7 separate regions of the Homo sapiens genome follow, and all the other regions are linked to region 5. The links are contacts of gene promoters, found by promoter capture Hi-C in blood cells and fetal thymus (Javierre and others, 2016). All regions are on one chromosome and are shown on one strand. Each heading gives the region's core, a stretch centred on a gene start or on the middle of the fragment in contact. The rest is flanking DNA. Distances are from core to core; before and after follow the strand shown. Region 1 overlaps MTHFD1L (methylenetetrahydrofolate dehydrogenase (NADP+ dependent) 1 like). Region 2 overlaps SYNE1 (spectrin repeat containing nuclear envelope protein 1). Region 3 overlaps LOC124901431 (a long non-coding RNA gene). Region 4 overlaps SYNE1 (spectrin repeat containing nuclear envelope protein 1). Region 5 holds the start of RMND1 (required for meiotic nuclear division 1 homolog). Region 6 overlaps MTHFD1L (methylenetetrahydrofolate dehydrogenase (NADP+ dependent) 1 like). Region 7 overlaps MTHFD1L (methylenetetrahydrofolate dehydrogenase (NADP+ dependent) 1 like).

The links. The method cuts DNA at HindIII sites, captures the fragments that hold promoters and counts their contacts. A CHiCAGO score of 5 or more calls a contact.
Region 1: a contact is called between a fragment that was not itself captured here and the fragment with the promoter of RMND1 in region 5, in 1 of 17 cell types (total B cells). The highest score is 6.0, in total B cells.
Region 2: a contact is called between a fragment that was not itself captured here and the fragment with the promoter of RMND1 in region 5, in 1 of 17 cell types (naive CD4 T cells). The highest score is 5.1, in naive CD4 T cells.
Region 3: a fragment that was not itself captured here is called in contact with the fragment with the promoter of RMND1 in region 5 in 1 of 17 cell types (fetal thymus); the score reaches 7.3 in fetal thymus.
Region 4: a contact is called between a fragment that was not itself captured here and the fragment with the promoter of RMND1 in region 5, in 6 of 17 cell types (total CD4 T cells, naive CD4 T cells, activated CD4 T cells and 3 more). The highest score is 8.6, in total CD4 T cells.
Region 6: a fragment that was not itself captured here is called in contact with the fragment with the promoter of RMND1 in region 5 in 1 of 17 cell types (activated CD4 T cells); the score reaches 7.3 in activated CD4 T cells.
Region 7: a contact is called between a fragment that was not itself captured here and the fragment with the promoter of RMND1 in region 5, in 1 of 17 cell types (total B cells). The highest score is 6.5, in total B cells.

Annotation. Positions count from the first base shown.
Region 1 is chr6:150,899,494-150,902,193 of GRCh38, forward strand. All of the region lies in intron 7 of MTHFD1L (methylenetetrahydrofolate dehydrogenase (NADP+ dependent) 1 like), which reads left to right. Among named protein-coding and RNA genes, the nearest start is that of MTHFD1L, 35 kb to the left of the region's middle. The HindIII fragment of the contact is 3,392 bases long and covers 1-2,700 here.
Region 2 is chr6:152,143,826-152,146,525 of GRCh38, forward strand. All of the region lies in intron 137 of SYNE1 (spectrin repeat containing nuclear envelope protein 1), which reads right to left. Among named protein-coding and RNA genes, the nearest start is that of SYNE1-AS1, 240 kb to the right of the region's middle. The HindIII fragment of the contact is 1,123 bases long and covers 760-1,882 here.
Region 3 is chr6:150,857,036-150,859,735 of GRCh38, forward strand. It overlaps LOC124901431 (a long non-coding RNA gene), which reads left to right. Exons shown (of 2, transcript XR_007059812.1): 2 at 1-927. Among named protein-coding and RNA genes, the nearest start is that of MTHFD1L, 7.3 kb to the right of the region's middle. RefSeq lists an enhancer at 1-703. The HindIII fragment of the contact is 4,238 bases long and covers 1-2,700 here.
Region 4 is chr6:152,161,580-152,164,279 of GRCh38, forward strand. It overlaps SYNE1 (spectrin repeat containing nuclear envelope protein 1), which reads right to left. Exons shown (of 146, transcript NM_182961.4): 131 at 2,584-2,700. Among named protein-coding and RNA genes, the nearest start is that of SYNE1-AS1, 220 kb to the right of the region's middle. The HindIII fragment of the contact is 2,524 bases long and covers 73-2,596 here.
Region 5 is chr6:151,450,863-151,453,562 of GRCh38, forward strand. RMND1 (required for meiotic nuclear division 1 homolog) reads right to left here and starts at 1,264. Exons shown (of 12, transcript NM_017909.4): 1 at 1,154-1,264. It overlaps DCPH1 (damage control phosphatase 1), which reads left to right and starts at 1,604. Exons shown (of 5, transcript NM_024573.3): 1 at 1,604-1,724. The coding sequence starts at 1,684. RefSeq lists enhancers at 992-1,041, 1,232-1,681 and a silencer at 1,842-1,961. The HindIII fragment of the contact is 8,083 bases long and covers 1-2,700 here.
Region 6 is chr6:150,877,494-150,880,193 of GRCh38, forward strand. It overlaps MTHFD1L (methylenetetrahydrofolate dehydrogenase (NADP+ dependent) 1 like), which reads left to right. Exons shown (of 28, transcript NM_015440.5): 3 at 141-191; 4 at 280-333. Among named protein-coding and RNA genes, the nearest start is that of MTHFD1L, 13 kb to the left of the region's middle. The HindIII fragment of the contact is 6,066 bases long and covers 1-2,700 here.
Region 7 is chr6:150,924,600-150,927,299 of GRCh38, forward strand. It overlaps MTHFD1L (methylenetetrahydrofolate dehydrogenase (NADP+ dependent) 1 like), which reads left to right. Exons shown (of 28, transcript NM_015440.5): 11 at 1,523-1,696. Among named protein-coding and RNA genes, the nearest start is that of MTHFD1L, 60 kb to the left of the region's middle. The HindIII fragment of the contact is 2,256 bases long and covers 182-2,437 here.

The DNA.
Region 1 (2,700 bases), core at 4-2,503, 550 kb before region 5:
TGAATGAAGATGGTTTGATGTTCTTAGTTTAGAGTAGTTATACTATTATTTTAACATTCCTATTTAATGATATGTTTTAATACTGCAGGGGAAAGGTAGATACAGATTCATAGCTACAAAGCAATACTCTTATGATCAATGTTCATTTAATTTCAAATACAAAGTTAGACATTCAGAGTTAAAAAAAATTAATGCATAGGCTGGGTGCAGTGGCTCACGCCTGTAATCCCAGCACTTTGGGAGGCCGAGGCAGGCGGATCATGAGGTCAGGAGTGTGAGACCAGCCTGACCAACATGGGGAAACTCCATCTCTACTAAAAATACAAAAATTAGCTGGGTGTGGTGGCATGCGCCTGTAATCCTAGCTACTCAGGAGGCTGAGACAGGAGAATCGTTGAACCCAGGAGGCAGAGGTTGCAGCGAGCTGAGATTGCACCACTGCACTCCAGCCTGGGCCACAGAGTGAGATTCCATCTCAAAAAAAAATAGATATATATATATTTTTTATATTATATTATATATTATATATTTATATTTTTATATATATAAATGAATAAACAAGGCATCTGCTTATGAAACAGTCTGCCTGAATGAAATCTCCATTTGCAGGCAACACAGTCTACAGTAATGGCAGGACTGTATTAGGCATGGTTCCTAATGCCCATTTCTGTAGCAAAGTCACCAGTAGTTCCTAATTGCCAAAAGTGAGTCACCGGTAGTTCCTAATTGCCAAAAGTGTATTTTTTGCTTTTATCTTGCTTGACCACAGCTGTCATATAAACCTGTTGGCCACACCCTTTTCCCTTAGCCTGAATGAAAATGCCCCTTCCTGCCCTTCGTAGCTCCTGAGCCACCAGGACATGGTGGTCTCCATCATCTGTTCGTTATCTCTAACCATTTAAGATTAGTGCTCCCCAAGGATGTCTGTTAACCTGCTTTCCTTCCCATTCTGCCAGTTTCCCCTGGGGAATCCACACTTCTGGTTTTAACCATCACCTAAATGCTGTGTGTCCCGACCCGCATCCGCATGCTCCCAGGCCATTCTCAGTTCCAGACCCGGGCCCCCAGCTTCCTGCAGACGCCTCCTCCAGGAGATCTCAGTATCTTGCTTTTCCTCCTACCCCTTCTAAGGCATTCTCAATCCAGCTTCCAGAGGAATCTTCCTAAAACACATCTGACTGTGTGAGCCACATACTGTAGCCCAACCTGACAGCTTCTTTTCTATATTAAGAAAAAGTGCGGCCGGGCGCGGTGGCTCACGCCTGTAATCCCAGCTCTTTGGGAGGCTGAGGCGGGCAGATCACGAGGTCAGGAGATCGAGACCATCCTGGATAACATGGTGAAACCCTGTCTCTACTGAAAATACAAAAAATTAGCCGGGCATGGTGGCAGGTGCCTGTAGTCCCAGCTACTCGGGAGGCTGAGGCAGGAGAATGGCATGAACCCAGGAGGCGGAGCTTGCAGTGAGCCGGGATCGCGCCACTGCACTCCAGCCTGGACGACAGAGTGAGACTCGTCTCAAAAAAAAAAAAGAAAAGAAAAGAAAAAGTGCACACATTTTGACATCTGAGAAAAGTGATGTTTTTCTTAGAAAAGTGACATCTAACTCTTTATAGAAACTTTGCCACAAGGTAGTCTAGGAGTCCCCTTACTACCTAAGATTTTCATGGACATGCCCTGTCTGATCATAAAGCATGTGGCACAGTGGCTCACGCCTGTAATCCCAACACTTTGGAAGGCCCAGGCGGGCAGATCACTTGAGCCCAGGAATTCAAGACCAGCCTGGGCAACATGGTGAAACCCTGTCTCTACAAAAAATATTTAAAAAACAAAATGAACTGAGCATGGTGAAGCACATCTATAGTCCCAGCTACTTAGAGGCTGAGGTAGGAGGATCGCTTAAGCCCAGAAGTCAGGGCTGCAGTGAGCTGAGACTGCAGTGCCACTGCATTCCAGCCTAGAGGACAGAGTGAGACCCCGTCTCCAAAAATAAATAAATTAATTAAATAAAGCCTTGTGAAGAATCTGCCGTGGAGCATAATGTAACCCATAAAGCCACTTAACTGGGCGCACATAAACTACATAAACTACAGTGTGTCCCAGTTCATTGAGAGTGAAAATCAAGCAAGGGACCACCTCAGTGTGGTAGAGCCCCCTCCCTGCCCTCCAGACCCTGCTCTGTTCTCTGTGTCTGACCATTGACTGGCCATCACTCAGGCACTAGTTGAGAATGCCAATGTCTTTAGTTATTGTAATTTCAGAAGCACATCCTTGCTGGACAAAGAACCTACCTGTTAATTTTTTAAAGTAATGTTCATCATTTTGAACATTGTTTTCTTTCTTTTTTATTCAGCTGACCCTCATGAGGAATTTAACTTGGTTTTCTGAACTGTGTTGGTAACATTTGAAGGACATAGAAACAGTTTTCATAGGTCTCAAGTGATATAAACCACAATTCTTTAGAAAATATCTTTTTTTTTTTACCCATTCTGGATTTTGAAATATATACAGATCTCATACCTCAGATTCTCATATGATATGAACTGTTTCAAAACACATTGATAGCAGAAGATACATACTGTCTTCTAGTCAAGAGGGTAGCGCTGTATTTAGTTTAAAACATTTTAATGCATTTTATTTGCTAAATACAAAATTATAATATTCTGTATAACTTTCCAAATCTCATCTGTCCTCCCTTTC
Region 2 (2,700 bases), core at 71-2,570, 690 kb after region 5:
TATTCAAGGAGAAGTTTCAGAAATGATTTCAGTTACAGCAGCATAGAAATGGCAGGTGTGGGTAATTACAAAGCAAATTTAGTACCATCGTGCCGGTGGGTTAGACATTAAAATGGCCAAACCAATGAAGGTGCTTGACTGAGAGCCCTAGCAGATCGGACGTCGCAAAACGGCTCTCCAGTCCGTTTTGAACAGCTTCGTGCACCTGACCCTCTTCCAGCTGAACCCCTGATCATCTGAATGTTGTCAGTGTGGAAGGCCTTTCTAAAAATCTGCAATGGTGTCTACTGCATCTCAGTAAGGAGAAAGCTGTTCTTTTTCTCATGTTCTTTCTGCTATCGCTTAGTGAGCAGGGGAAGATCCTCCCTCTGATTTTTCTTCATGCACCTCAGGGGAAGATAGTGTCACGGAAGGCTCAGGTTGCTGCATCATTTACTGAAGGCATAAATTCATTAATCAAGAAAAGAGTGCCTCAGAATAGATATATACAGAGATATCAAACTAGCAACGACTTGCTTTTTATCTAAGATCTGAAACAAAACCAGGAGAAAGCTAAGATTTTAACATTTCCATCTAGGCAGGTTCTTACTCATAGCCTAGAATTCTGGCTCATTCTCCTCTCAAAGTTGTAACATTTCTTTGTAAAATTACTGAGAGTGTGTGTGTGTGTGTGTGTGTGTGTCAAAGTCTTCGAACTACACAGGAACATTTGATCATCAGTGAAGCTAGCATGGGGTGAAAGCAGAACAAATATTAGTAAGCTTTATTAAATGTTTTTATTTGTTTCTAAAAAAGGCCTTCTAGATACACCTAGGAGAGGTCCCTCCCTGGGAATCACCCTCTCAGTAATGTTACTTTGCTTTCTGTCCTTTTGATTTTCTTCAAAAACTGAAGCGTAAACTAGTAACTCCGTGATTCAATATCATATCACTGCGTTCAAACTCTATTCCCCGCCGACATCCCACATCACTGATCCTGAACTCCTGCACTACAGTTTGTCTAACACAACACTAAGCAAAACTAGTTCCATTTTTCTTTCTTTAATTCTTCTTGTTTCAGGAATAGTTCTGTTCTTATCTATGGCTCAGCATACCGTGAAATACATTTTTCATTTCAAATTATCTTTTACGACCTCTTAAATTAAAATTACATATATTTTTTAGAGCTGAAATCTGATCTCACCCCTTGTCTCATACGGGATTCTTGAGATGAGGAGGATAAAGTGGTGGATGGGCCAAAGGTCACTCATGCAGGCTGGCGGACTTGGGACCAGAGCCTGCACCCTGAGTCTCCAGCCACAGGTAGGTCTGCATGCAGTGAAGCTGAAATTACCACACCACGTAGAACACTAGGGCGCAGAGGCTGATGACTGGGTTTTCCTTCTCATATTTTCTGCAGTTAATGGACATGAGAGGTCTATACCTAATGAGACCAATCACCATTTAACAAGTTGAGAAGTTACTTTATTTCGCTCAATTAGTGAAATCTTATTCTTGGTGTGGATTTAACCAGCTGTTTTTTCTAGTACAGCAGTAAGAGAGGAAGGCTGTGCCTTAACATGCTAGAGCCACAAAGCTGGGAGAGAGACAGCAGATGTGCTAAGAGAGGAGGATTGCTATACAGGGGAGGGAGGGAGGCTGGCTCCGGCTTGTTGTGCCTACCGGAGGTATTTTTGATTGCATTTTCTGTGAGTTTTACATAGGCCTCAGGGCTTTCGGGGATCATTACATCTGCAAAAAAAGCACAGTCTAAGTTGACAGCTAAGTTCTGGAAACCCTGAATCCCTTGTGCAGGAAAATAACTTTCCTAGGGGAAAAAAAGGAAGTCAGTTATTCTAGACACATAGCTCCTGAGCGCACAGAGGAGCGTGCAGGCTCACCAAAGCTTTCCTGAAATGAATCATAAGAATTCACAGTGGGTGGGGCATGGTGGCTCACGCCTGTAATCCCAGCACTTTGGGAGGCCAAGGCGGGTGGATCACCTGAGGTCAGGAATTCGAGACCAGCCTGGCCGACATGGTGGAACCCCATCTCTACTAAAAATACAAAAATTAGCCAGGTGTGGTGACAGGTACCTGTAATCCCAGCTACATGGGAGTCTGAGGCAGGAGGATCGCTTGAACCCGGGAGGTGGAGGTTGCAGTGAGCCGAGATTGTGCCACTGCACTCCAGCCTGGGCAACAGAACTAGACTTCGTCTCAAAAAAAAAAAAAAAAAAAAAAAAAAGAACTCACAGTGACTGAGAGTGTTTTTATGAGCCAGGCTCTGGTCTGAGCACAAATTTATCACATAGAAACCCTATAGGGTACCTGGGAATGTTATTCCCATTTTATAGATGAGAAAACTGAGGCACAGAGGAATTAGGTTCCTTATCTAAGTTTAAACAGAAAGTACATGGCAGAACTGAGATTTCAGCCCAGACTCCAGAGCAGCGCTGTCCCATATATTTCTATGTGAACTATATATGTAATCTTAAAGGTTTCATAGCCACATTAGAAATGTAAAAAGAAACTTATAAAATTAATTTTAACACTACATTAGACAGGGATTATAACATGTAATCAATATAATTATTAATATTTTATTTTCTTTCTTGTACTAAGTCTTTGAAATTCATGTAAGCATGTTTTCCACGCACAACCCATCTCAATTTGCACAGTCCCATCTCAGAGCTCAACAGTCCCAACTGGCCAGTGGCTGG
Region 3 (2,700 bases), core at 29-2,528, 590 kb before region 5:
AACAGGAAACTCTTTTTACTCTTTGCAGAAAGGGTGGTGCCTGTCAGCAATCCTGCCAGGAGTACCCACAAAGTAAAAAAGATACTAGAATAGTTTTGCCTTACACATGAGGTCCCTATTGCTGTGTCCTGACTCCATTGGCTGGAGCCAGACCTCACAATCTAAACTAAAACCCGATTGGCTAACAGTTCAAAACTTTTTAAAATAGGTAAAGGCAGTGAGGAACAAAGGAAAAAAAGGAAGTTGCTTATGAAAGGACTTAGAAAAGTAATAATATTCCCAAATAAGGGAGGAGGGTAGGCTGCAAGCTGGGACATGCCTGGGCATGTCCAGCACGAATATTCTGACTAAGGTACAAGGACATAGAATGTACTACATGCCTGTGAGCATGTTTAACAGATACTGAAGTCAGAGTATGCTTATTCTGTTACCTTTGCTACATAAGGCTTAACAGAGAGTTATTACTATAAAATAAGAAACTTAAAGTTAGTTTTGAGAAAAGATATCAATAACATTTATGATTTAAAGGGATTTGAAGAGGAACTTTTGCTTTCTACACAAAGCCTCCTCATTCATTGAAGAGGAAAACTCTTGGTGGGGACAAGAGTGAATTTACTTTAAATACCAATCCACTGACTAATCCCAAGTCTGGGAATGCCTCCAAAATGTTGAGTTGATGTATTATTATTTATGTAGAAACACCCATTTACTGTAAGTTTCCTTCAAAACAACCCTCGTTGCTGTTGCAGAAATCATAGGCTGTGACGCTGGTAGCCACCTACACATTCCTTCTAGAACACGTATATTTTTCCCCAAGATATAAGCCCTGGGTCTAGGGGGTTGTGGTGCAGAGATCTACCTATCTTGTAGCCGCCCAAGACCACGTTTCTGTTTGTAAATTTCCCTAATAAATCACCCAGAACCACACATTGGATTTCTCTGCCTCCTTTGGTTTCCAGGCTCCTTCTGCATTTGGGGGTTGCTGTGTAAATACAGCCCTTTCATGGAACAAACTCCCATAGAAGTGCAAACTGTGTTGACCCTTGTTTTATCCAAGTGTCCTGTCTACATTTGTAGCCTTCCAGTATTTGCTGGGTCTGTCTCTTTGGCATTTTGGGAGCCACATAAACCACCAGGCTTCAAGCTGTTACCCCGGGTTGCTGCTCCTCTGACCATCCTTCCTGGTTAGTCTCCCTCCTGACCCACCTTCTCACTGCTGCTGTTCTTCCCACATCTTCTGTCTGCGTGCTCTGGGTCACTTTAAGTTCCATGTTGAACTCCTCTACATTCCCTATATTTTAATGGAAGCAGTTCCCTCCATTCTTTTTTTTTTTTTTTTTGAGATGGAGTTTCGCTGTCGCCAGGCTGGAATTCAGTGGTGTGATCTTGGCTGACTGCAACCTCCAACTCCCTGGTTCAAGCAATTCTCCTGCCTCAGCCTCCCGAGTAGCTGGGATTACAGGCTCGTGCCACCACGCCCAGCTAATTTTTGTATTTTTAGTAGAGACGAGGTTTCACCACGTTGGCCAGGATGATCTCAGTCTGACCTTGTGATCCGCCCACCTCGGCCTCCCAAAGTACTGGGGTTACAGGCGTGAGCCACCGCGCCCGGCCAATTCATTTCTTTTTTAAACTAACACTTAGCTCTTCCTTAAGGATGTTTCTCCTGGGGATCTCTTAAAGGAAGGCTATTCATTCTCCCACAATCCAACACCTCAAGTTCGAGAGGTGGAGTCAGTGCTTCATGGATCCATGCTGTGGCTGGAGACCATTCCTTCTCTGCCCTCATGAATGAATGAACTATTGCATGGTGGCTATTTGGAATGCAATTTTTTTTTTTTTTTTTTAGATGGAGTTTCGCTCTTGTTGTCCAGGCTGGAGTGCAATGGCGCAATCTCGACTCACTGCAACCTCTGTCTCCCAGGTTCAAGTGAATCTCCTGCCTCAGTCTCCCCAGTAGCTGGGATTACAGGCAGATGCCACGATGCCCAGCTAATTTTTGAATTGTTAGTAGAGACGGTGTTCCACCATGTTGGTCAGGCTGGTTTCTAACTTCTGACCTCAGGTGATTCGCCCTCCTCAGCCTCCCAAAGTGCTGGGATTACAGGCATGAGCCACTGTGCCCAGCCTGGAATGCAAATCTTTGTGTCACCTGACTCCTATCATCCATTGACCTTCTTACCAATTGGCCTCATTCAGTGAAGGTGAGCCCACACCTCAGAATCAGTCTCCTTATCATCCTATACTCTCCACCCCTATATACTACCACCACCTTGAAAATATCTAGAAAATCCCTATTTGATGGATATTTCGATGGATGACCTTCTCAACATCCAGCCCTTTATTTTCTTGACTTGCTCATGGCCAGTGACCTTCACCTGCATTCACTTTAACCACTGTACACAACAGAGTGCTTTGTTGTAAATGATAGTAATTGACTCTAGCAAACTTAGATCACCAATTTGAGCTGTTTCTTCACCTCCTTCTTGACTTTTAAGATGGTGGTAAAATGCACATAAAATTTACCATCTTAACCATTTTTAAATATACAGTTCAGTGGCATTAAGTACATTCACAAAGGTGACACAAACTCCAGAGAATATGCTGCTTGCAGCTTTGATGATTGTATCAACGGTGATAAGTCTTCCCATGTCTGCAGGAGCAGCTGCAGCTAATTATGCTTACTGGGCCTATGTGCCT
Region 4 (2,700 bases), core at 85-2,584, 710 kb after region 5:
CTCTACAATGTGTTTCCTCTGATTGTTCCTTTCTTTATTTCCCTCTATTTATTTTTTTTTCTTAATGGTAGAAGCTTTCTTAAGTGGTGAGGATTCTTGCCTACCCACACATATTCAAGAATGAGTCAGCTATAGAAGCTGTGTATGCACCTAAAGTATGTCAACTGGGAGGCTTCCCTGTGGAGAGTTAGGCAGGGGTCTGGCCTTTTCTGGGTTACCTTAAGTATCACTAATTGAAGGTACTTTTTGCTTGTCTGATCAGTTCTCCAGAAAGGATGCTCCAATCTCCTGGCTAGGGTGTAAGCCTGGGTACTGACATAGTGGGAGCCAAGCTGGGGAAGCGGGCTGGGAGCCCTAGCATTTGGTATTGAGCCAGTCACATCATCTCCCCATTTTTAACATAGTGACTCTAGCCTCCACGGTGTCCTGATCCCCAAACCCAGAGTCCCTCTGGTTTGCTTTCTCCAGAGAGTAATCATCTGATCTTCTACCTGAGTAAAGGAAGCAGAGTTCCCTGGCTGGCTGGGCTTAGGAGGAATCTGCCAGTCTCAGCACACCTTATTCAGATTTTCAAGTAATCTTCCATTTTACAGCTCAATAGGCAACTCAACTTTCAGCTTCACCTGATCTCCACTTTCTGAGCCTTCTTCGAACTCTGTGGCATGAATCAACTTTCTCCACCCTCCATTCTGTTAACAACATCACTGATCTATCCACTTTCTATCTTGCAAAATTATGTTGGATGTCTGTCATCTCTACCATTTTCTCTCCTGTTCTCTTTGCCATTGTGGTTTTAACCTTTTTCCCTCTCTACCATCATTTTATTGGGGTTTTAGTAGTAGGTGGGGCTATAAATACATATGATCAATTTGCCATATTTAACTAGATATTTTGTTGATTTTCATACACTTGTGAAATTACGATACCCGCCATTTGCATTTCAACTCATCACTATAGACATCATTACCATGTTCTCTGGAAGAATCTGGGAAGCCGGATGCCAACCAGGATCCCTACAATTCAATCATCAGAATCTCAAACATCACCACCCATCAGAAAACTTTAATTTCATAAAAATTGAAAAACGTCTTGCTAACAGTTTTTTTAAAGCAATGGAATATAGTGTATGTTTCAAGATAGCTAGAAGAGAAGATTTTGAGTATTGTAAGAAATGATAAATGTTTAAAGTGATAGATATGGTAATCAAATTACCTCAGTTTGTTTGATTATTACACTATGAAAATATGCATTGAAGCACCACGTTGTACCCCACACATATGTACAATTACTATATATTCATTAGAAAGAAAAAAATTTTAATGATAATTTTAATATTAAAAAAACCTCAACACCCAAAACTGTATTTTGACACCTATTTCATTGGCTTAAATAGTCTGTAAAATGAAGTAAGTACATAAACTATAAGATTTTAAAAATAGGAGGTATTTACATTTTATAGCATTTTAAAATTAAGCAACTTTGCTGCAATGGCCTAAATGTAATGGAGAGAACCAGAGTGTGGATAGAATATTCAAAGCAACCTAAATGCATGGAGTAACAATACCTCTAGCGGGGGATTTACAGTGTTTGCTATTGGCAACTGGAGTCCGATATACTTAGCAAGGATAAATGAGGGGGCCTGGCACAGTGGCTCACGCCTGTAATCCCAGCACTTTGTGAGGCCGAGGGTGGGCAGATCACTTGAGGTCAGGAGTTTGAGACCAGCTTGGCCATCATGGCGAAACTCCGTCTCTATTAACAATACAAAAATTAGCCAGGCATGGTGGTGCATGCCTGTAATCTCAGCTACTTGGGAGGCTGAGGCAGGAGAATCGCTTAAACCTGGGAAGTGGAGGTTGCAGTGAGCTGAGATCGCACTACTACACTCCAGCCTGGGCAACAGAGTGAGACTCTGTCTCAGGAAAAAAAAAAAAAAAAAGAAAGAATAAATGAGGGAGGGAATGGGAGGTGAAAATTTCTTCTGTATACATTTTCCAGGATCATCCCTTTTTGCTTTGTTGGGTTGTACGCCGCCAGTGAGATATTCTGTCTTTGCTACACACATGAAAGTGGAATTACTGTGTGCGATCTGCAGGTCATGCAATCCTTTTTGCAAAACAAAATTTTTTCAACTTGAAAAATTCTAAGTATGCCTTGTAATCTTTCCCCAAACACTATACACAGGAAAAAAAGTCGGGGGCAGGGGGGCTCCTTTCAGTCCTGTCTAAGTGTATGGTAGTGGGCTAGGGCTAGTGACTCTCAAATAAATAAACCAATCTGTTAGCACTGTTTTAGATACGTAATTGCAACTCCACCTTACCTACCATCTTAGAAGGCTTCTTGGTGGATGGATGACACTAACTGTACAATGGCACAACCATCTTTGTAAGGCTGAACTCTGCAGTGACATGGAACCTGTTGGCCTCAATCGCCTGCCTAGGCAAAGCCCCCTTCCTCACCAGTCCTGCCTAGCTCCCTGCTGACCTTCCATCTCCAGGCACCATCTCATGCCCACCCCATCATCCTGGCCAGGAGGACAGATATTCCATGGCTTATTAATTCCATTTCCATTTTAAGTCTTACCTGCTGCTCATTAAGCTTTCTCTGTATTTCTTCCGAGTTACAGGAATCGTAGACTATTGGCTTGGCCAGCTCTGACTCGATGTGAGCGAGCCAGGTCCTCAGGCTGCTCATGTTCTT
Region 5 (2,700 bases), core at 14-2,513:
ATTCTTCTGCCTTGGGATCCTGCTAATCGGTGACCTTACCCCCAACCCTGTGCTCTCTGAAACATGTGCTGTGTCCACTCAGAGTTGAATGGATTAAGGGCGGTGCAAGATGTGCTTTGTTAAACAGATGCTTGAAGGCAGCGTGCTGGTTAAGAGTCATCACCACTCCCTAATCTCAAGTACCCAGGGACACAAACACTGCGGAAGGCCGCAGGGTCCTCTGCCTAGGAAAACCAGAGACCTTTGTGCACTTGTTTATCTGCTGACCTTCCCTCCACTATTGTCCTATGACCCTGCCAAATCCCCCTCTGCGAGAAACACCCAAGAATGATCAATAAAAAAAAAAAAAAAAAAAAACACAACCAGCATCCATTCTCTTATCTTCCTCCACTTTGCATTTCTCCATTGTTTAACATCACTTGCACACCTTTAATTTTTAGTTTATTAATTCATACTGCAAACGAACTCAGTTCTTATCATGTGCCAGGTATTGTCCTAGTTGCTGACAATACAGCTGAAAATAAAATAGACAAAAATCCTATCTTTTGAATCTTTTGAACCTTGCATTGGGAGTGACAGACAAAACGAGGTAAATCAGTAAAATACGTGAGACACAAAGCTAAAGGAAAAAAATAAGAGGAAAGGGCAGATTTTTGTGTCTTCCTTCCAGAATGGAAGCTCCCTGAGGATACGGATTTGTGTTTTTTCCTATTATATCTCCTGACAATAGCGCCCAGCACATAGTAGGCATTCGATCGAATTTTTAAAATGAAATACAAGGCAGTTACTCAGTTCCCGGGCACATTTCAACTTTTAGAGAACAATTACACCAATTAAGAAAATCGATTACAGCTAGGCTACGATTCGAGAGCTAAGTGGCGCTCATCTTTGGGAGTATGCCGTTCAATTCCTCAAACTCAAAATTATTTTATCGATTTCTACAGTTACCGCGGTGCACTGGCTCAAAAAAAGGGTTCATTAATTGAGTGCTTTTTACTCCCAGCTAAGCTGACCAAAGATCACGGTAAGAGGCAAAGGGTCACAGCCGCACTGGCGTAACCCGTAACTGTACACGTTCCGGGCGGCCAGGAGCCAGGGCGCAGACCTCCAAGCCGGACCACTCGAGCTGCTAAAGAAAAGGCAATACACTAACCTCTCCGCCGGAAGAGAAGAAGGAAGCGCCAGGGACGCACGCTTCCTCGGCAGGACTGCAGGGAAAGAGCCGCACCCCCAGCCTCTCACTACTGCAGCCAACCCATCTCCTGGAAGGGCGCTCCCGCCCACCCCCGCTACTGCGCAGCCGCACTGAACTCTGGTCCCACTTAGCGGGAGAAACTCGGGCCACGTGACTGTCTGACCACGTGAGCCGCGTCGCCGCGACCTCTTCCGCTCCCTAGGCCCTGGGACCTCCCGGTCCCTTGCCTGCTTCCGGCTTTCGCTCGCTTCCATATCCGCTCCTCTAGTCGCCCTCCGCTGGCCCCGCCTTCGTCCCCGGAAGATTGGGTCTTCTGGCGAGCCACTGTTTGCCGTTTGATCGGGCACCAAATAAAGTTTCTTTATTCAAAAGCACTTTTTTTTTAAAGCCACACCACCCCCATTCTCAGCTCCTCCTTCGCGGCGGTACCGCCTCTGTTTCTGCGGCGATTGAACAGCCGAGCTTTGCGGCCGGGATCGCGGAAAGTGATGGCTGTCGTCCCGGCGTCTCTCTCAGGACAGGACGTGGGGTTAGTCTAGCTTTTCTCCTCCCCACTTTTGCGGAAAGCCGGGCCTCGCCGGGAGCCTGTGGGGACTAAGCGGAGGGCGCCCGCTCCCCGGTGGGCTGCGTTCGAGTCCCGCCGCCGGGCGCGGCTTTCCGGGGCGCCTTTGCGGGTTTCGCGGACTGGCTCGGAGGCGAAGGGAGGCGGCCCCGGGGAGGGAGCCTGCCCGCGGCGGCTGCTCGTAAGGATCAGGACAGGGGTCAGCTTCGCGGTCTGTTCCTGGCGGTCACTTTTTATTTATTCACTTTAATAGACGCGCTTTGGGGGCGTTAAAATTCTGCGTAAGAGTTGGGGATCTCAGCGCTATTAAGAAACGGGTTTCTCCCTGTTGTTGATCAAATCGTAATCTCACAGTAAGAACTGTCTAGTTTTTTGCTTTATAGTCGTCACGCTACTGATTCTTGGGTAAAGTTGTGGGTGACCGTGCAAATAACATCCATTTGCATAAATCGAATGGCCAAATTTATATTTGAAATTTGTCCTTACTTCAAAATATTGCAAAAGACGAGAACACTTTGAAGAAAATAAACCTGGGCAGAAAGTAGGTTGAGGCCAACAAAGTGGCGCCAATGGCCCCAAATTGAGGCAGTCACTGTTTCAGGTCATGCAAGTATAGAGAGTATCTCCTTCAATTTTGCGCCCTAGGGCTTCTGGCCTCACTCCAGTCCTGGCCAGAGACTTTGTTCCAGAGGTGCAGGAAATGTAGTAGTTAGGAAAACAGTAATACTTTCCAATTAAAGTAAAATCTCAAAAAAGGACTTACTATACCTACTGCCTGGGAAAATTCAAGTGACAGTTGATTTAATGTTCCTGCTCACCCTCTGAGGTATTAGTGATTTCTTTTATTAATGATTTTTAAAAATTAAATTCTGATCAACGTAGTTATTATGCGCATTAAAACCTAATCACTGTTTTGGGTGGTACTGAAAGCACCACAGAGTCG
Region 6 (2,700 bases), core at 76-2,575, 570 kb before region 5:
AAGCAGCAAGATTGTTTTTCTGCACCTTCCATATTATCTTTGTAATTAGATCATCTGTAATCACAAAATTCATCTCTGGATTATCTTTTGTGCCTTTTCAAGCTATTTTTATGTTGTTATGTTGTTTTTACCTTCCTAAGGCAGGTGACGACAACTTGATGCAGGAAATCAACCAGAATTTGGCTGAGGAGGTGAGGACTGCTGCTTTTAAAAAATTCACTATAACTTTTAACAATACATTCTCTTATAGTGACGAATAACCTTGTGTTCCTTTTTCAGGCTGGTCTGAACATCACTCACATTTGCCTCCCTCCAGATAGCAGTGAAGCCGAGGTAATAATGGCAGAGCTCTAAACTCTTGCTTCTTCTTTCCTCTTGAGACTTAATAGGCCCATTGGCGTCTCTTAGTGGTGGCTGGGACAGATCTAAGATTTGCTTGTGACTGAATGTTAGAGGGAAGACTTCACTTCTTTTCTCTAGGGTAAATGCTTCATGATATCCTTGTTTCTTGTCATTTGTATGTTTCTACTGAAGACTTGAGTTGCGACTTGTTGAGTTCGGTTGTGTTTCTTCAGCTGCGGTGGCAGCGTCATCTAGTGGAAATTGTCAGGCCGAGGCGAGGAAACTGGACCTTGGACCACAGATCCCTGTGCCAGGGCCCGGCCCTTCTGTGGTTAGCTTTTCTTCCTACTGGCTTCATGTGACAGAAAACCTCAAATAATGGAATCTTAAATAATGTACAAGTTTATTTCTCTCTCTCTCTCTTTTTTTTTTTGAGATGGAATTTTACTTTTGTTGCCCAGGCTGGAGTGCAATGGTGCCATCTCGGCTCACTGCAACCTCCGCCTCCCAGGTTCAAGCAATTCTCCTGCCTCAGCCTCCTGAGTAGCTGAGATTACAGGTGCGTGCCACCACGCCTGGCTAATTTTTGTATCTTTAGTAGAGATGGGGTTTCACCATTTTGGCCAGGCTGGTCTTGAACTCCTGACCTCAAGTGATCCACCCTCCTTGGCCTCCCAAAGTGCTGGGATTACAAGTGTGAGCTACTGTGCCCGGCCTAGAAGTGTATTTTTCTGGGACATGAATAAAGTTTGGAAGTAGGCAGTCCCTGGTTGGTGATATCACCAAGTCGCAGGAGCTCAGGCTCCTGTCCCTCTGCTCTGCCGCCTTTGTGGTTTGGTTAACAAGCACTTTGTTCTGATTGATCAGTGAGGCCCAGCAGGTCTGCTAGTCATTTGTGAGACAAAGAATGGGAATTTGTAGAGTTTGTATCTGGCCTTGTGCTATGTAAACAAGGGGGCATTGGTGAGTCTTATTTGAGTCCTATGGAGAAGAGCAGTTCTTTGCAGTACACAGAGGCTGCAGGGATTTGTTAACCTTCCCTCTTTTCCAGGATCACAGGGCTCAGGTAAAGTTCGTTGTCACCAAGAAGAAAAAGGAAGGACAAAGACAGGCCCCTGCTGTCTTTAAAGACATTTCCTGAAAGTCACAGTTCTACATCCATCCCGTTGTCCCCTACTTAGTTGCCTGGCCAACTGCAAAGGAGGCTGGGAAGTGTAGTTTTTATACCAGGAAGCCTTAGATCATTTATTAGCAAGCTAAAAACCAAGAGTTTATTACTAAGAAGAGAAAGGAAACTATATACTGGGCGATAAGTGTTTGCCACACTTGCCATTGTAGCGTGGTACAAATATGAAGTGTTAAATATGTAACAAATACCTATGATACCAGCAGTGACAGCATGCAAAGGAAGTTGTTGTTCATTTGCACGATACCCACTGTCTGCAGCAGAATTTGCTTTTCTTTCTTTTTTTTTGAGATGGAGTCTCGCTCTGTCAGGCTGGAGTGCGGTGGTGCAATCTTGGCTCACTGCAACCTCTACCTCCCGGGTTCAAGTCATTCTCCTGCCTCAGCCTCCCAAGTAGCTGGGATTACAGGCGCCCGCCACCATGCCTGGCTAATTTTTTGTGTTTTTAGTAGAGACAGGGTTTCATCATGTTGACCAGGCTGGTCTTGAACTCCTGACCTCAGGTGATGGCCTGCCTCTGCCTCCCAAAGTGCTAGGATTACAGGTGTGAGCCACTGCGCCCAGCTGGAATTTGCTTTTCTTTAGGTTGTTTTGCCACTGGTGTTTTTTTTTTTTTTTTTTTTTCTGAGACGGAGTCTCACTCTGTCACCCAGGCTAGAGTCCAATGGCGCAATCTCCTCTCACTGCAACTTCCACCTCCCATGTTCAAGTGATTCTCCCTGCTCAGCCTCCCAAGTAACTGGGTTTACAGGCACCCGCCATTATGCCCAGCTAATTTTTGCATTTTTGTAGAGACGGGGTTTCACCATGTTAGCCAGGCCGTTCTCGAACTCCTGACCTCAGGTGATCTGCCCTCCCTGGCCTCCCAAAGCGCTGGGATTACAGGTATGAGCCACCTCACCTGGCCTTGACACTGGTATTAATAGCCCTTGATTTTCGTCGTTGTTGTTTATAATTGACACATAATAATTGTGCATGTGTGTGGGGTACAGTGTGGTGTTTCGGTACTTGCATATGTTGTGTAATGATCAAATCAGGTTAGTTACATTCATCACCTAGAACGTTTATCATTTCTTTGTGGTGATAGCTTTCAAGATCTTTTCTAGCTGTCTGGAAATATACAATACATTGTCATTAGCTTTAGTCACTCTACTATGTAAGAGAACACTGGA
Region 7 (2,700 bases), core at 60-2,559, 530 kb before region 5:
CCGAGTAGCTGGGACTACAGGTGCCACCACCACACCTGGCTAATTTGTTTGTATTTTTAGTAGAGACGGGATTTTGCTATGTTGGCCAGGCTGGTCTCAAACTCATGGACTCAAGTGATCCTCCCGCCTTGGCCTCCCAAAGTGCTGGGATTACAGGCGTGAGCCTCTGCAGCCTGCCAAAAGCTTACACATTGTTCAAGATTAAGCTCTTCAATTTAGGAGATTGTGGGAAGAGAGAGACAGAAAAAAACTATGGCCAGGAAGGCAAAACAAAGTAGGAGGCTAGAAAGGAAAGGTCGGATAGGTGGAGGCCTGGAAAGGAATACTCAGCGGTACTTGAGGGGGGTAACCTGAACTCCTAGTTTCTCTGGTGCCCTTTGGAGAAGTCTGGGTGGAGGTGTGTTTGCTGTTGCCTCTTACCCCCGGGTCAGGCCCCTACAGGATCCTGGAGGAGAGTCTAGGGTGGTCTGAACACTGAGGGTAGATTACCTGCAGTAGCTACAGAAACAGTCAGGGCCAAGGGGCTGACTAAAGTCCACTGAGGGGGTTGATCTGCCCACCGCAAGGAGGCAGACCACAACAAAAATAAGTGTTCTGGGGTGAGTGAAGGAATAGCTGTCCTCTCTGATGCAACCTTTAAGGGTAGTCCCCCGCCGCGTGGTCTCCCGGGGTTAGTCTTGCTGCTGGGGGAACAGGTGTGCCTTCCATCTCTCACTCTCAGACACATGAAGGGCCTGACTGCCCAGCAAAGAAATGACTGAGCACATGAGCCCCAGAGGAAAGAGTCCAGCATTACACATGCTGGTATCCAGACCACTCCTGTAAGACGAGCAGTGGTGGCCAGTAAAATAGAAGAGTTCAGTTACGTGCCCAATGACTCTCTGGAGTTCCTACAATTTCCTGTCTGAACTTGGGCTCAGGGCACTAGGTCCTTTTACCGACAGTTATGTAATTAATAAAACATTTTGAAATATGATTTTAGACTGTAAATAGAGAGGGGGAAGTGTGGACACAGATAAAACGAAATAGCATTTCCACATTTTTTCTTTTTTTTTGTACTTAATCTCTAATGTGATAGTAATGTTCACATTTTTGAATAGCCAAGAGAAACATGTGGCCAGCCCGATCGGAGATTATTATGCAATGACCCTCTATTCATCGCTAATGAATACCATGATGGCCCATACAGAGCATTTTGCTCTGTAGTCGAATCACACTTGCAGGAGGGTTTTGGACACATTATAATATGCTGTTCTTGTCTCTATGCCATAGGTGTTATACTTCCACCTGGACACAATTCTAGGATCTTTGTGAGTTTTTTGGAGTTGCATTTCTAAAATGATACACCATTTTCTCATACACGTTAATTATTAGCAGTTGTGCTTATTACTGCCTGGGAGAAAGGACCCCAAAGTAATTGCATTGATTTCATCGTTGGCGTGATGTGTGGCTGTTTTCACTCCAGTTGTGACCACCTAAGCTGAGAAGCCTTTTCTCTCTTTCGTATTGTCTTTCCCCTCAGTGACATTGAGATTTCAAGAGGACAAACTCCAAAAGCTGTGGATGTCCTTGCCAAGGAGATTGGATTGCTTGCAGATGAAATTGAAATCTATGGCAAAAGCAAAGCCAAAGTACGTTTGTCCGTGCTAGAAAGGTTAAAGGATCAAGCAGATGGAAAATACGTCTTAGTTGCTGGGTAAGACACCATCTAACATCTACTTGATCAAGCAGACATATTTACAAAACTCTTCCCTATTTATCTCTCTCCTCGTACCCCTCAATCCATCCTATTCTCACATTTGACATTTCGTCCATTTCATTTGGCATTTCTTTATTTGGTGTGAGATAAGTTTTTATTTTCAGTGCAGAGCAAACTAGTCGACTCTACACAAGATAAAGTCAAACAAGTTGCAGTGCTTTATCTTTTGTTTCTCATATTATGTTGTTATTACCCCTGCTCCTCCTTGACTTTTTGAATTTCATTTTTCATTATAAAAATCAAAATAGGAATTGAAAGTAAACTATTTTGAACTGAGCAGTTTGTTTTGTGCGTTCTACTTGAAATATTTTCGTGGAAAAGGTACAGATAATCATATGAAACATGTTTTCCTGTTAATATCCTTGATCTTACCTACATATTCACATTTCAAAAGCTCATTATTTCCCTTTTTCTGCATTTCAAAACTAATGTTGGGCCATTTTCATTTGTGTTGGTTATTTTATAAAAGACAAATTCATAGTTTTTGTGAAAAGGAGTGTTTGCCTTTTTCCCCTTCTTTTTAAAAAAAGAAGTACATTCACTAGCTGAAAAGATGATAGAAAGCAAGGGATTTCAAATATTTATTCAGTGTGACCTGAGGGAACATCATGAGACCATATAAATTCCTTTGCTGCCTTGAAATTTCATTTCAGTGACTATTGCTTATGATGTATACAAAGCTTCAGGCACAAAACCTATTTGTCAGGCAGAGACATTTCTTGTAATTGGAATTGACTCCTAGGTAACTTTGTTTTTACGTATTTAATTATTAATGTAAGTGCTTTTTTCTTTATTTCTTTTTCTGGTTATAAAAAGAATGTAGTTTCATTGTAGAAATATTCTAAAAATTCAGAAAACAGAAGTGAAAAAGTAAAACATCCCAAACCCAAGCACTCAGAGGAAACAACTGTTGACCTGCGAGGACTGTTTTGACGCTGATA